4 separate regions of the Homo sapiens genome follow, and all the other regions are linked to region 3. Evidence: promoter capture Hi-C in human tissues and cell types (Jung and others, 2019). All regions are on one chromosome and are shown on one strand. Each heading gives the region's core, a stretch centred on a gene start or on the middle of the fragment in contact. The rest is flanking DNA. Distances are from core to core; before and after follow the strand shown.

Region 1 (3,754 bases), core at 751-3,250, 290 kb before region 3:
TTCAGTGTTGCAAGAGGTATACACAACTTTGCTAACTAAATGCCACGCAAAGTCAGGTGGAGCAATTCCATGTCAACAAAACACATAAGATCATTACTGTATGAAATAGCAAGGAAAAATGTTGAAGCTAACCCCTAGAATCCATAAAGATCATATGAGATCTGCAGCTAGTTATTAAGAAAACTGCAGAGTCATCAACAAGTGACATTTACACAATGCTCTCTGAATGAATCATGTCATAGTAAGCACTTTGAAATATGAGACACGCTGTTGGGCCTAAAGATGCTTAATCTAAAAAAGTCATTAATTCAGGAAGAAATATATGTATTCCAATGCAGAATGAGAACAGGACCAAGATATTTTAAAAGGGGAAATATTAAACCCGGTAAGAAGAAAATGATACTATTCTGGAATAAAATGTTACCAGAAAAAGAGAATTAGGAGCTCCTTTGAGGGCCTAAGCCTTTGCCACTTACAGTCTCATCTCAGAGGGGTGTGAGTCATCATCCTCTCCCATTATAATGATGCCTTTGAGCTTGACATTGCCCGTAAATCTGCCAGAATGCAAAAGAGAAGGTTGTCAAACCTGAGTTTGAATACCTGTTTAGTTGTGTGACCCTGGGCAAGACCCTTCCCCTGTATGGGCTTCAGTTTACTCATCTGTCAACTTGTACTAGATAATTTCTAAGATCCTGTCTACCTCTAGCATTCTACAATTCTAAGAAATCTACCTCAATTTCTCAGTTATTGTTCTACAAATACATCTGTTTCCAGTCTGCACCAAGAAAGCTATGATGCTTTCCTCCTCAAACCCACCAAAGTAATTTATCCCATTTCTAGAAGCAAATGTGTGCTCTTGACACCAGTGAATGAATCCATCTGAGGCAACTGGGTACAGCCTATTTAGCCTGAGGTAGGCACCAAGGAGATACTTACGGAATATTAAACAGAAGCTCTTCATCTGCATCACTTTCAACAAACTGGAGGGGATGGGGAGGGGGGAGGAGAAAGCAACAAATATTTGCTGAGAGCCTACAATTTCAGGCATCTCCCACCCTGCTCTACAACTGGGGTGCAATGGGAAGAGTCACTCTCCCTTGGTTTTCCAAGACTTATTAACTTGAAGCTAACCAGTCTTATCCAGTGTCATAACAGCCACAGGCCACCCAACTGGAAGGTTCTTAACAAAAAGCCCATGAATGAATTTCCAGGGTCGAAGAGCCTTCTGAAGTGTGAACTGAAAGGCAGGTGTTTATGTGCATTTTTCTGAGAAGAAGGTCCACTGCTTTCAAACAGATAGCAAAGGGGCCTGCGACCCCACAATGTAAAGAACATTTGCTCTATATGGGAACCACCTTTCATCTCCCTAGGCTCATCTTCACCAGGTAATATGATGAGGCAGCCATTAGCACCAATGGTCCAACGGCCCTCACGACCATCCTCTCTAGCCCACACAGCCCTGGAATAGAGCGTTAGGCTGTGTAGCTTGACAAAACTGTCCCCGTTCCCTCTAGGCCTCAGTTTCCCTATATGCAAAATGGGGAGACAACGCTGCTCGCCTCCCAAAGAGCTGGCAGGAGACAGGCACGGAAAAGCGCTTGGCAACCAGGCTGTCGTTATTCTTAACATCAGAAATGAGTAGACCGACGGCCCGAGGCCCCACACGCACCCTGCCCCGCCCGCCCCAAGCCCCAGGCGGCCCACCTTGGAGCGGTCGGTCCGCTCCTCCCACGGCTTGAAGACGCCGCGGCCGCTGCCCTCGCGGCTCTCGTTAAGGCATTGCAGCCGCTCCAGGTCGATGCGCAGGTACAGGCCGTAGGCCAGGCCGCGCTGCTCGGGCGGCTCCTCCCGTTCGGCGGCGCAGCGGCAGCCACCCCCGCCGTGGCTGTGACCGTGCGACATGGCAACGCCGCCACCTGCGCGTCCTCTCGGCCCCACCGCCGCGCTCGCTCGGCTCGGCTCGCCTCAGACCAGCTCCGCGCCGTTCAGCTCCGGCAACTAAGCGCGCCGCGCCTGCCGCGTCGTAAAAAGCGCCGCTGCGCGGCGCATGCGCGTGGGGAGAAGGCGGGGGGGCGGGGGGGGTGGGGTCGAGCGGAACTGACGTAGGACGCGCGCCTCCCAGGTGCCAGAGTTCGTATATGACTCCAGTCCTGGCGCTGGATGCTGCTGCTGTTCCAGCTTCCTAGGTGTGGAAACTGAAGGACCAAGAGATTAAACAGGTGTGCTGAGTAAACTCACAGGCTGAGATTCGAATTATCCTCCCCCGACGAGGATGGAGCCTTCGCTGTCTTCCTTGATCGCCACGTTTCTTTGCGAGCCGATGAAGGAAAGCGTGAGGAATGATAAGGCCCTGGAGACTGGAGAACGCGAGCTTATCGCTGTCTCACATGCGCACGGCTTAGACGTTGAGAGCTCACAGGCCCACTTGCATAACCACTTTCTTGATAGCGGGGTTACAGCTTGAGAGCATGGGGCTTTGTGCACGGCCAGACCTAAAGACTACTCCTGGGTCTGCTACTGGCCATTGTGACACCTTAAGTCATTTCCCCTATTCTGAGACTCCGTTTCCCCGTCTGTAAGGTGGAAAGAATAGTATCTGTTTCATAGGATCACAGTGAGTATTAAATGAAATAATGCAATTAAAGAACTCAGCAGGCCGGGCGCGGTGGCTCACGCCTGTAATCCCAGCACTTTGGGAGGCCGAGGCGGGCGGATCACGAGGTCAAAAGATCGAGACCATCCTAGCCAACATGATGAAACCCCGTCTCTACTAAAAATACAAAAATTAGCTAGGCGTGGTGGCGCGAGCCTGTAGTCCCAGCTACTCGGGAGGCTGAAGCAGGAGAATCGCTTGAACCCGGGAGGCAGAGGTTGCAGTGAGCCGACATCGCGCCACTGCACTCCAGCCTGGCGACAGAGCAAGACTCTGTCTCAAAAAGAAAAAAAAAGAAAAAACTCAGCAAATGGCTGACACATGATGGGCATTCAGTAGCCGATGGTTATTACGGTCAAATCCAACCACAGCAACTTACTAGCTGCGTGGCCTTGGGCAAGTGACTTGATCTTCTGAGACTCAGTTTACCCCCTGTGAAGTGAAGGGATTGGACTAGATGATCTCTGCGTTTCCTCCCCCATGTGATATTTCAAAGTACTTTTTTTCGAACAGCTGGTTGTGGCCTGTCAATAGGTTTTAAAATCCGTTTATAGAGAATTGTGATCAACATTTAAAAAAAAAATAGAATACAAAAAAAAAAAAACCCAGAATGTATCACACATTTCAAGTCTCAATTGATGAAACTTTTGTTTCAGTTTTGAGTTTGTATTCAGACACAATATGATGTGTTTTTCATATTGTGGGTTGAGATCAAAATAATTAAAAGTCACTGTTTAGAGGTGAAATAATCTTGTTTTCAGGATAGAATGTTTTCCTACTCCCTGGTGGGGAAAAGACAGGATACAGAAAGAGAGTTATGGGATACCCTGGCTACCCTCTTCCCTTCACATCTGGCTCTGGAGTGCTCAGTGGGGCTGGTGAAGTATAGACCAAAATATCCATTTTTTCAAGTTCCATTCAGAAATATTTTCTGGGCCACATGCAGTGCCTCATGCCTGTAATCTCAGCACTTTTGGGAGGCCAAGGTGGGAGGATCACTTGAGCCCAGGAGTTTGAGACTAGCCTGGGCAACATAGGGAGACCCCATCTTTACAAAAATAATTAAAAATATTAGCCCAGCATGGTGGCTCATGCCTGTGG
Region 2 (3,817 bases), core at 589-3,088, 320 kb after region 3:
GGAGTTCGAGACCAGCGTGGCCAACATGGTGAAACACCGTCTCTACTAAAAATACAAAAATTAGCCAGGTGTGGTGGCAAGTGCCGGTAATCCCAGCTACTTGGGAGGCTGAGGCAGGAGAATCTCTTGAACCTGGAAGGCAGAGGTTGCAGTGAACTGAGATCGTGCCACTGCACTCCAGCCTGGGCGACAAGAGAGAAAATTCGTCTCAAAAAAAAAAAAAAAAAAAAAGAAAGAAAAAGAAAATAAGAATGACAATCATATTGTTCATATTGTTTGTGGAACACTGTGCCTGATGTTTTCCATACAGTATCTTAGGTAATTTTAAAACAAACACCACAAGACTATATTATTATCCCCATTTTATAGATGAGAAGACAGGCTCAGAGATGGCTATTATGACCCCAGAACATATGATCCCAGGGTTTTCTGGCATCAGAGCTTGAGCTCCACAAACATGTGTGGGTTCTGACCTCCAGGAAGTGCTAAGAAACAAATGGGAGGTCAGTTCTTTATAAGTTGTAGTGTTCATGCCCACGTGAGGGTTAAACACAATGTTATTGGTTATTCAGAACAGGGAGGATTGCTTTCTGGCTGGGAGAAGCTGGGAGGTGAGACAGCAGGGGAAGAGCTTCAGCAAAGGGTCAAATGTGGGAAAGCAGTGGGTGTGCTAAGAGAAGTTTGGATAAACTTTGTGTGTGTGTGTGTGTGTGTGTGTGTGTAAAGGTAGGAAGTGATCATACCAGGCCAGGGCTTTGGCCTTTATTCCATAGGCAATAAAGAGCTTACACAAGAGATGTCTCAAGAGACCAACCATGCTGCTGTAGTCAGAGAGGAAGCAGCCCTCAGCCCATCTGTGTCCTGGCTTGTGAATGCTGCTGCGTGCCAGCGTGTGGGAGGGCATCCGCAGCGAGAGCAGTCTCTGGCTGTGTCCTGTACTATGCTGGGTGTGGGTCTTGGGCTGTCTTTGAAGCCTTCCTCCTGGCTTCTCAGGGCACTAGGTGCCTTTTAGATAGTAGACTTAAAGGAAGTATGTCATAGAAGTATGGGAGGGGATTTTGAGATCATCTGGTTATTCCCCCTTCCCATTTTAAAGAAGATGAAAATCGGGAACATAGATGGGAAAGTACTTGTCTAGCATCACACAAAGAATTAATAGCACAGTGGGGGACGGGAACCCATGCCTCCCGAGTCTGAGCTGAGTTCCTTCTCTGCATTTGCAGAGTAATAGAAATAGGATTTGTTGAGTGATTATTCCATATCAGGTTCTAGGCTAAGCACCTTTCCATTGATTATCTCATTTAATCCTCACAACCCTACTGAGAGTGTCCCGCTTTTTTCTTTTTCTTTTGAGACAGGGTCTCACTCTGTCACCCACGCCGGAGTGCAGTGGCACGATCACGGCTCACTGCAGCCTCGACCTCCCTCGGCTCAAGCGATCCTCCTACTTTAGCTTACCGGCGGGCGCCACCACTCCCGGCTAATTTTTGTATTTTTTATAGAGATGGGGTTTCGCCATGTTGCCCAGGCTGGTCTCGAACTTCTGAGTTTAAGCGATCCGTCCGCCTCAGCCTCCCAAAGTTCTGGGATTACAGACTTGAGCCACCACGCGGGCCGAAAGTGTCCCTCCTGAAATCGAGAAGTCTTGTCTTCCATTTCGATTTCCCAGGGCGCCTAGCACAGGACCCAGCTACGGAGGCAATAAAAACTTGGTGGAGTCTAAGTCCTGGGAAGGGAAAAAAAGGACGGAGGGGGCGGGGCCTACAGACAACCCCGCCCATCACAAAGACCCCGCCTTCCAGAACGCTGACGTCACAATTTGGCCCCGCCCCTCATTGTCAGTCCCGCGGAGCCAGAGGAGGCGCCGGTCGCTGGCAGCTGAGCGGCGGAACCCTTCGCTGGCGGGAGCGCGGTTCGGGGCCGCAGAGGTGAGGGTCCGTGAGGCGGCGGCGGCGGGAGCGCGGCGCGGGGAGGGGAGGGCGGCGGGGTTGGGAGGCCGGTCCCGGGTGAGGTCGGGGCACCCGCGGCCACGGGGCAGAAGAAACCGCGGGCGCAGCCGAGGAGAGATGGGGTGTGGAGTTGGGGGAGAGTTGGAATGGATTTTGGAGGAAGGGCTCAGGAGGAGACCTTTTGGGGCGAGACCCAGCACATGTTTGTGGAGTTGGAGGAAGAGACTCTGAGGAGATTTTTCCTCGGGAGGGGGAGGGAAGGTTCTGAGGAGACTTCTTGGTGGGAGCGAGACTCTGAGGAGAAATGTTTGGGGCAGAGACGCGGAGGAGACATTTTCGAGGGGGCGGCGAAGAGTTTCGGGGGTAGAGTTTGGGGTTGGGGGAGGGGGCGCGGGCCGACAGGGGCGGGGGGCGACGAGGCGGCCGTGGAGGGGGCTGCGCGGGGCCCGGCGGGCACCGGAGGAAGGAAGTGATCAGACAGGAAGGGCCCGGGAGCTGCAGCAGCAGGAGGAGGAGGGCGGTTTGGGAGCGCGTCGGGCCGGCGTGCGGGGCCAGCTGCGGGCGCGGGGCGCGGGCCGCGGGCCGGGCGGGGAGGGGTCCCGCGGCCGCCGCAGCTGTCGGCCGCGCCGGCCCGCGTCCCGGGCGCTCTGCTGGTCTCGCAGCCAGACCGCTGGGCCGGGAAGGAATTCGAGGCATTCGCTTTGTTTAAGTTGCCAGTAGACAGTCCTTAGGACTAATTAATGGTGGAATCTGCAGGGGGACGCCGGCGAGCGGGGCCGGGGCCTCCCCCCGCCCGCCGCGGTGAACTTTCCGCAGCGCGGGGCCCGCCTCCCGGCGCACCCCCGGCCCCCGCCCAGCCGCCCGGGCAGGGAAGGAGCCATGGCTTCCCGGAGCGCAGGAATGAAGTGCGGTTTCTGGGGCTGGTGGCCTCTGGCTGCGGAGCCTGCCTGCAGGGAACCTGGCGACCCGCAGCGGCCGCGCTGGGGCTTCGGAGCCCGGTTTAGAGCTCTTGGAGGTGGCTGCGGTTTCTGTGCATAACCTTGGAGGAGCCTCTGTGAGCCGAGAAAGACCATCTTGCTTTGGAGCATCTGTTTCTTCATCGCGTCAACCCCTTTCCTAACACTGCAGAGCTTGTTGTGGCTTGTTTCGGGAATGCCGAGGCCAGTGCTCACCCTTGCGGGTGGGAGAGGGGAAGAGAGTAGGCACCCCCAAAACCCCTGTAGTGTGATTTCCAGAAGGCCAGACTGCCTGCAGCTCCACCGTCGCACCTTCACTGACTTGAATGACCTTGGGAGAAGGATTGCGCTGCTGAGCCCTTGGTGCCTTATCTGTCGTTGGAGGAGAAAATACTCTCTGGACCTCCCTGCCTTTTGGGGATGTTTTGAGGGGTGGGGTTTGCTCAGGGTATTTCTTTTACAGACGGCTGCAGTTCTGGCCTAAGGAGCTGGACTGGTGTCAGAGCCGGGAGAATTCAGATCACCTAATAAGATTTGACTACCTCAAATTAGGGAGGGAGGGGTTTGGATTTTAGGAGGACATTTCTTTTTGGGGAATCTGGAAGGTGTGTTCCAGATTGCCTTCTGTCACCTTGTTTGCAACTTTGGTAGTATTCATGTGGTTAAATTGAATTACCCCCATAGAAAATTCTTCTTTTGTCAGAAATAATTGTTTTGCTCAGAATTCCCCTGGGGGCAGATTAAGGTTTTGCTCAATTTACTCCTAGAAGAATTTACTCCTAGAAGAATTTTCCAGGTTTCTAAAATTAAATCACTTTTCTAAACATAGTAACTAAAGTTTGAAAAGCTGGAAATAGTGAGCTGGGAAGGGAATGGGTTGGAGTATGAAGAAGGCAGCAAACACAGGTTCAT
Region 3 (3,678 bases), core at 567-3,066:
TCTCTAAAAATAAATAACAAGAAAAGTGCCTATTTGGTTTCAACAGGAGAAGTTGACCTTGAAAGAACTCTTGGAATAGTTGTCGTCTCTATCAGATGGTACACATTTTTTTCAACTTTTAATTCTTTTTTCTTTCTTTTCTTTTTCTTTTTCTTTTTTTTTTTTTTTGAGACAGGGTCTCACTTTGTCACCCAGGCTGGAGTGCAATGGCAGGATCTCAGCTCACTGCAAACTTGACCTCCCAGGTTTAAGCCATTTTCCTGCCTCAGCCCACCAAGTAGCTGGGACTACAGGCAAGAGCCACCACGCCGGGCTAATTTTTGTATATTTTGTAGAGACAAGGTTTCGCCATGTTGCTCAGGTTGGCCTTGAACTCCTGAACAATCCGCTCACCTCGGCTTCCCAAAGTGCTAAGATTACAGGCATGAGCCATCGCTCCCGTCAACTTTTAATTCTATTACACAGTAGTATATGGTCATTGTATAAAAGTTAGGATATACAGATTCACCAAAAGAAAAGAAAGTTACTCATAATGTCTTCAGCTAGTGCATATCTGTCTTCAGCTAGTGCATAAAATGTTGCTGGTGCAACATTTTAGTGCATATCTTTCCGGATTTTTTCTTTTCTTTTCTTTTCTGTGCGAGAAAAGAAAAGATTCTCTCAATCGCCGCCCTGTGGGGTAAAATACCATGAGGCCATTTTAAGAGGGGGAAATGCAGGCTTAGAGAAGCAAGCAATTTATCCAAAGTAACCAAGATTGGAATCTAGGTTCCTCTGACTCCAAAACCAATGTTCCTTGCTGCGGTGCTTTCCTAGCTTTTTACTTGGAGAACTTTTCCCCAGAGGACCTCAGGCTTCAGAACTAAACCTAAGTGGATTTCTATCCTGAACCCCATCCCTCATCCGCCCCAAAGGATGGTGAGCCAGATTAAGGGGTGAAAGGCAGGAGCAGGAAGAGTAAAGGCGTGGGTGCGATCTATGGTCGGGTAAGAGGGAACTAGTACACGCACGTGTTCGGTTCTTCGCAACATCACAATCAAGCGGGCATCAGGCTTCCCATTGTACAGATAAGGAAACTGAGGTTCCAGAAGAGAAGTAATTTTCCCCAAGTCACACAGCTAGCCAGGGGCCCCGATCCACACATCCCCGGGGCGGCGGGGGTTATCAGGAGGGAGTCTCCGGATGCCTGCAAAGCTGAGGCTGAGAGCTGGGCGTACGCAGCAAAGGAGGGGTGGGGCGATTCGGGGCGGAGCGAGGCAAGGAGATTGGGCGGGACTGGGGAGAGAGGAGGGAAGGGTGGCGGGGGGGTGGTAGGGCAGAAGGGGCGAGGTCATGGGGAACTCGGAACGAATCAGCAGAGGAGGGAGGAAGAGGGAGGGGGCTCTAAGACTCGACGCGGAGATGGAACAGCCTGGGCCGTGCAAGGGAGGAGGATTTGGAAGACCCAGAGCGGGATGAAACGGGACAGAGCCCTGAAGGGGCAGGGATGGGGGAAGGCGGAGGAGTTTCTACTGAGGCCAGGGGTGGGGCATCGCGCCAGGGGGCGGGGTCTGAGGCGGTGAGGGGCTGGGGGCGTGGCCTAGGGGGCCGGCGAGGGGCCGGGGAAGCGGCCTGACGCGGTGCGGGGCCGGGACCGGGGCCGGAGCCTGGACCTTGGCGGTGGAGGAAGGCGAGGAGCCGGGGGCGGGGCCGTCCCAGCTGAGGAGCGGAGAGCGGCTGGAGGGTCGGGGGCGGGGCGTGCGGAGGGGCGGGGCGTGTGGAGGCCGGGACGGCGCCCCCGGCCGGCGGTGAGGCCGGCTCAGCGCGGAGCAGCTCAGTGCCCCCCGCGCCCCGCTCCGGCAGCTCCACGCTCGCGCCCGCCATGCCGGAGCAGTTCAGCGTCGCCGAGTTCCTGGCCGTCACCGCGGAGGACCTCAGCTCCCCGGCTGGGGCCGCCGCCTTCGCCGCCAAGATGCCCCGGTACCGAGGGGCGGCGCTGGCGCGGGAGGAGGTGAGGGGGCCGAGGCGGGAGGGGTCGGGGGTCGGCGCCGGGCCTGGCCTTGACCTCCACAGGCGTGTCGCACCCGAGCTGCGATGGCCCTTCACCGCGCCCCGAAACCTGCCCCCTCCCTAGGTCTGGGAGGACCGAGCGCATCTCCAACAGCTGCGTCCTCACCGTCGAGGCGGGGGAAGGCCCGAGGGACCGTTTTGGGGGGCCTCGAGGTCTCTTCGATGACAAACTCCACAGGTCGGGGGACGTACCCCAAGTGCCCCGCGTGACCGCCTCATCACATATGTGTTTGCCTAGCGCCTTCCAGCCTCAGTTTGCGTTTTCATCTTCGGAGCCCCACAAGTGTGCCCCCCGAGTCACTCCCCTTCTGAGAGGCAGGCTTCCCGCCTCAGTCCTGAACTTTCTTCCCCCCGGCTGCAGAGAGGCCCCCTCCCGCTTGCGGCTGGTTCGGAGATTTGGCCCGCGTTTGTGGAATGAATGCGGATGGGAAGGCGCCAGGAGCCGGGGTTCACCTTGGCCGGGCTGTTGGCAAGTTTATCGTCTCCTCTCCCCTCCCCTCTCCTCTTTGTCTTTCCCAGCAAAGCGTCCCAGGCCTTTTCTTTCGGTCTTGCAGGCTGCCCCACCCCATTCCCATGCTCTTCGGAGTTCCTTCCATTCCTCTTCTCTGAACCTGCTGCAGCTTTCCGCAGCTCCTCTGCAAAGAATATTCTAGGACAGACACCCCGTGGCCTTGGTCCAACGGAGAATAATGTGTTTTTGCAGCTCCCCATCCAAAGGATGCCCTCAATTTGGGTGGCATTTTGGACCTCAGCAACGGCTCTAGCCTTCCACCCTTCACCTTAAGTGTACTAGGCACCCACTGCGTGGCAGATACAAAGCTCAGTAGTTCATAACACCCTGCGCCAGTGTCAGGAAATCTGTCCTCTTCTCTCTTGTCAGGGTGACCCTCCATCTCGGAGTCTGTTTGTATCACTTTGTAAGGGTGATAGAGGATTGTGGAAGGAGCATCGACTTTGGGGAAGGCAGACCTTTTTTCTTTCCTTTTTTTTTTTTGAGACGGAGTCTCGCTGTGTCGCCCAGGCTGGAGTGCAGTGACGCGATCTTGGCTCAATGCAAACTCCGCCTCCCAGGTTCACACCATTCTCCTGCCTCAGCCTCCCGAGTAGCTGGGACTACAGGCTCCCGCCACTACGCCTGGCTAATTTTTTTTTTGTATTTTTAGTAGAGACGGGGTTTCACCGTGTTAGCCAGGATGGTCTCGATCTCCTGACCTCATGATCCGCCCGTCTCGGCCTCCCAAAGTGCTGGGATTACAGGCGTGAGCCACCGCGCCGGCCAAGGCAGACCTTTTTTCAAACGCTGGCTCTGCAGTTTGCCATTTGGGTGAACGTGGGCATGTGACCTGTCCTGTCATCTGTGGAATGGGGGTAATAATGTGTACCTCACATGAGACAATGCATATAAAGCATGCATCTTTTTTTTGGAGACAGAGTCTTGCTCTGTCTCCCAGGCTGGAGTACAGTGGTGCGATCTCAGCTGACTGCAATCTCTGCCTCCCGGGTTCAAGCAATTCTCATTCCTCAGCCTCCCAAGCAGCTGGAATTACAGGCATGCTCCACCACACCCGGCTAATATTTGTATTTTTAGTAGAGACAGGGTTTCACCATGTTGGTCAGGCTGTTCTTGAA
Region 4 (4,084 bases), core at 208-2,707, 460 kb after region 3:
TCTGCGCCCTAATACTGCCCCAGTGCCCTGCACACAGTGTCCCATGTGGTCCTTTGTTTCAAGGGCTGATGATACCCTGTAACAACATGAATGTGGGAATTACATTCCACTTCCATCACTTATTTAGCTTTGTGACTTTAGGCAAGTTGCTTAAATTGTGTGCCTCAGTTTACTCATTCCTAAAATAGGGCTAGCAATACCTGCCCGTTGATATTTAACAACAACAAAAAAAAGTAATGTTGGTGACACGCTGAATATAGCATCTAGGACACAGACATTTGAGGCAGTCACTGTCTGTATATACTGTTTGGAGTCAAATCTTTTCTTCCCATATATTTGCATTTTGACTATTATTTGCTCTCTCAATCAGCAGCTTCCTCATCTGCAAAATTCTGCGCCAAAAGATCGCTGAGAGGATTTTAAAAAAGAAAAAAAAAAAGACTAGAACTCCTACCACACAGCAGGGTTTTGCTCAAACAAAAACAAAAGCAAAAACGACCCTTTCTTTTCATCTCCCCGGCTAAGGCGATTTCTTCAGCATCAACCTACAGCCCCCTCGTGCACCCAGCTGAAACGCCATCAATATCGCCCAACAGCTTCCAGACCTATCTGTGAACAAACAAGTGAGGTCTCCAAGAACGCCAACCGTAACCCCACGTCAGGGAGCCATTTTCCAGTCAAGAAAATGAAAAGGTGTGCAAGAAAGACCTAAGGAATAAAATACCCCTCCCAGCAATCATCGATGCCCCTTCCCACGTCGCTCGGGACCCAGCACAAAGACCGCAGTCAACACCGGCAAAGACTTTTCCTTTCTCACCCCACCCGTCCAGCTAGAGGGGACGTGGCGTGCGCAGCGATACAAGGGGAGGTCTGAGTGGTCGCAGGGCCCAAGACCCGGCGGCGGCGGGGGAGGGCGGAGAAGCCTCGGGGAAGCTCGGCACCAGGCGGTGTCGTTTGAGGGAAGGGTCGAGCCTTACCTTCGCCCGCTTGCGCCGGCTGGTCCGACGCCCCTCCGGAGTCTCTGCTATTCCAGTTTCCATGGGGGTCGCAGACCCAGGCACGACAGTAGGGCCGGCCTGAGGCCCTGCGGACCCCGGCGGTTCCGCCAGGCCCCCGGGGGGCGAGGCCCGCGGAGGCTCTTTCTTGCGGGGTGTGCGCTCCCCCACCGCCCCCGGCCCGACCTCGGCTGGGCCCGACAGGCCCGCGGGCTGCGCGGCCACCTCAGACCCGTTCTCGGAGCCGCCTGCTGTCCCAGGGCCAGCCTCCGTCCCGGTTGCTGCCGCTGCAGCCGCCGCCGCCGCGGCTGCCGCCTTCTTCCCAGATAACATCTCGGGCCGCCGGGCCGCCGACGGCCGTAGGGGCCGCTCGCTCTGTCGCTCCGTGGGTCCGAAAAGCCTTGCCTCGCCTCGCTTCACGCTGCCCGCGCGCCGCCAACCGCCGTCGCGTACGCACGCGCCAAGCGCGCTCCCGCCGCGCCGGGACAAAAAGGGTCGGAGACACCCACGAGCCCCGCCCCTCCCCCGCAGCCATAGAGCGGCGTTCTCGCGGCTAGAGTGGCACCGCAGCAAAGAACGTGTAGCTTGCCTAGAGCGTCTCCCCGGCGTTTGGAGTGGGACCTGGCACAGTCCGTGGTCTTAGGGCTTCTGGGCCAGACTAAACCTCCGAAGGTGACCATTTCCTCCAGGGACTTTCGGGTTTGCATGCGTGCGTTCGTTCATTCACTCACCCAATTATTCGTTAATTCAACCAGTATTTATTAATGCTTGCCTACTACGTAACAAGGGTTACATTATGAAGTTCTAGCTTTCAAAGAACTTACAGTCTAATGGGGGAAAACACTGAAATATGTTGGTAGAGCGTCTTACTTATTCATAATTGCCCTGCTTGGACTGGGCAAAAAACTTGGAGAGCACAGCAGTTTCGATGGTAGTAAAATGGAGACAAGTTACGAAATCCAGGTTTGAGTCCAGACGGAATTGCTCTTGTCTCCAAGCCTTTGTTCATGCTTTTCCTTCTGGCTGGACCCCAACCTCATTCGCACTCCATGTCTTGCGCTTCTCCCATCCCCCATGTCCCCCATCCCCCATGTCCCCCATCCTTCATGTCCCCCATCCCCATCCACATAACACCTCTTTCTACTCCAGGTTAATTCTTTCTAATAATGATAGTAGCGGTTTATTCTTTTAATTTTTCGAGGAATCCCTTGCTAACCCAAAACTGGAACAGGTCGTGTACTTTTAGCATGCGTGTACTTATTACACAAACAATTGTCTTTTTAATAGTCTGTCTCTTCGAAGTGAAATTGTCAAAAAATTATTCCATTTACATGAAGTTCAAGAACTGGTAAAACTAATCTCCAGTAATAGGCTCCAATCAGCCCTTGCCTGAGATGGGGGTCGGGGGTTGACTGCAAAAGAACAAGAAAGAACTTGCTGGGGGTGATGGAAATGTTTTATATCTTGATTAGGGTGATGGTTACATAGGTGTATATATTTGTCAAAACTCTATGAACTATCCATGTAAAACAGGTATGTTTTATGTAACTGTAGTACTTCAGTAAAGTTGTTTTTTGTAAAAAACTAAGCAAACAGACAAAAAGGCAATCAAATGTAGAAAGGAAAAAAAGTAAAAGCTATGCAAGAAAGAAAATGTATCCGAGTGGCGTGGCACGCACTTGTAGTACCAGCTGCTCGAGAGACTGAGGTGGGAGAATCACTTGAGCCTAGGAGTTCATTCAAGTCCAGCCTGAGCAACATAGTGAAACTGCGTTTCTAAAAAAAAAGAGAAAAGAAAAAGAAAGAAAATATAATCATAGTACAACATATGGCTCAGCTGTGAACTGTATTAACATGACCATAAAAACGTAAGCAGTGAATATTGTTTTATTTATTTTTTCTGTTCTTTTGTTTGTTTGTTTCTTCTTTTTTTTTTTGAGACAGAGTCTTGCTCTGTTGCCCAGGCTGGAGTGCAGGGGTGCAATCTTGACTCAATGCAACCTCTGCCTCCCAAGTTCAAGCGATTCTCCTGCCTCAGCCTCCCCAGTAGCTGGGATTACAGGCGTGTGCCACCATGCCTGGCTAATTTTTGTATTTTTAGTAGAAACAGGGTTTCGCCATGTTGGCTAGGCTTGTCTCCAACTCCTGACCTCAAGTGATCCTCCCACCTCGGCCTCCCAAAGTGCAGGGATTACAGGTGTGAGCCACCGCGCCCCGCCGAGCAGTGAATATTGTTTTAACCAAAGTGATAGAATTACATTAAGAGAATGGAGAAAAAAGAAAGTTTGTGGGGAGAAAGATGAGAAGGTTTTAAGGATTTAGGGAAGTAGGGAGGTTGTTGGGGGAGGTGCTGCTTGGGAGCTAAATTATTTTTCACCATAAAAATATAATACATAATGTTGGCCAGGCGCGGTGGCTCATGCCTGTAATCCCAGCACTTTGGGAGGCCGAGGCGGGCAGATCACGAGGTCAGGAGATCAAGACCGTCGTGGCTAACACGGTGAAACCCCGTCTCTACTAAAAATACAAAAAAACTGGCCGGGCATGGTGGCGGGCGCCTGTAGTCCCAGCTACTCGGAGGCCGAGGCAGGAGAATGGCGTGAACCCAGGAGGCGGAGGTAGCAGTGAGCCGAGATCGCGCCGCTGCACTCCAGCCTGGGCGACAGAGCGAGACTCCGTCTCAAAAAAAGTATATATATATATATATATATATATATATATATATATATATATATATATATATATATATATAAAATACATAATGTCAAAATTGAGAAATCAAAAAATAATATAAGCATACTATTTAGAAATATCAAGGTAAATACAGAAGAAACAGCTAAAAAAGTTGGAATTGGTTGTCTCTAAGGCTTGGAACTTGACGGTGGAAAGAGGTGAGGCAGTGGATTGGAGCTTGTTTTAAATCCTGTAGTTCTATCTGACTTGTTTGCACATTTAATAGTTTGATAAAACTTGAAATTAGATGTTAAAAACATACATACCCTTTGACCAAGTAATTCTACTTTCAGGAAAGCATTCTAGGGAAAGATTCAGTATGTGTACAGATTTAACTTCAACACTGTGTATCTCAG

What was found. Contacts are between HindIII fragments. The study calls those that stand out against the background at their distance.
Region 1: a contact is called between the fragment with the promoter of PITHD1 here and the fragment with the promoter of ASAP3 in region 3, in 1 of the 25 tissues and cell types used here (mesendoderm cells).
Region 2: the fragment with the promoter of LUZP1 here is called in contact with the fragment with the promoter of ASAP3 in region 3 in 1 of the 25 tissues and cell types used here (pancreas).
Region 4: the fragment with the promoter of KDM1A here is called in contact with the fragment with the promoter of ASAP3 in region 3 in 1 of the 25 tissues and cell types used here (heart right ventricle).

What each region holds. Positions count from the first base shown.
Region 1 is chr1:23,776,664-23,780,417 of GRCh38, reverse strand. It overlaps PITHD1 (PITH domain containing 1), which reads right to left and starts at 2,000. Exons shown (of 6, transcript NM_020362.5): 1 at 1,705-2,000; 2 at 937-980; 3 at 477-554. The coding sequence starts at 1,902. It overlaps ELOA-AS1 (ELOA antisense RNA 1), which reads left to right and starts at 2,121. Exons shown (of 4, transcript NR_038280.1): 1 at 2,121-2,219. RefSeq lists enhancers at 1-1,070, 2,324-3,276 and silencers at 1,621-1,670, 1,761-2,070. The HindIII fragment of the contact is 12,544 bases long and covers 1-3,754 here.
Region 2 is chr1:23,166,877-23,170,693 of GRCh38, reverse strand. It overlaps LUZP1 (leucine zipper protein 1), which reads left to right and starts at 1,838. Exons shown (of 4, transcript NM_001395462.2): 1 at 1,838-1,928. RefSeq lists enhancers at 944-993, 2,069-2,600, 2,601-3,132 and silencers at 1,639-1,698, 2,690-2,829. The HindIII fragment of the contact is 15,099 bases long and covers 1-2,046 here.
Region 3 is chr1:23,482,317-23,485,994 of GRCh38, reverse strand. ASAP3 (ArfGAP with SH3 domain, ankyrin repeat and PH domain 3) reads left to right here and starts at 1,816. Exons shown (of 25, transcript NM_017707.4): 1 at 1,816-1,990. The coding sequence starts at 1,862. RefSeq lists an enhancer at 952-1,051 and silencers at 1,242-1,291, 1,302-1,411, 1,532-1,981. The HindIII fragment of the contact is 29,915 bases long and covers 1-3,678 here.
Region 4 is chr1:23,016,841-23,020,924 of GRCh38, reverse strand. KDM1A (lysine demethylase 1A) reads right to left here and starts at 1,457. Exons shown (of 21, transcript NM_001009999.3): 1 at 978-1,457. The coding sequence starts at 1,328. RefSeq lists enhancers at 280-965, 966-1,653 and a silencer at 1,141-1,210. The HindIII fragment of the contact is 14,593 bases long and covers 1-4,084 here.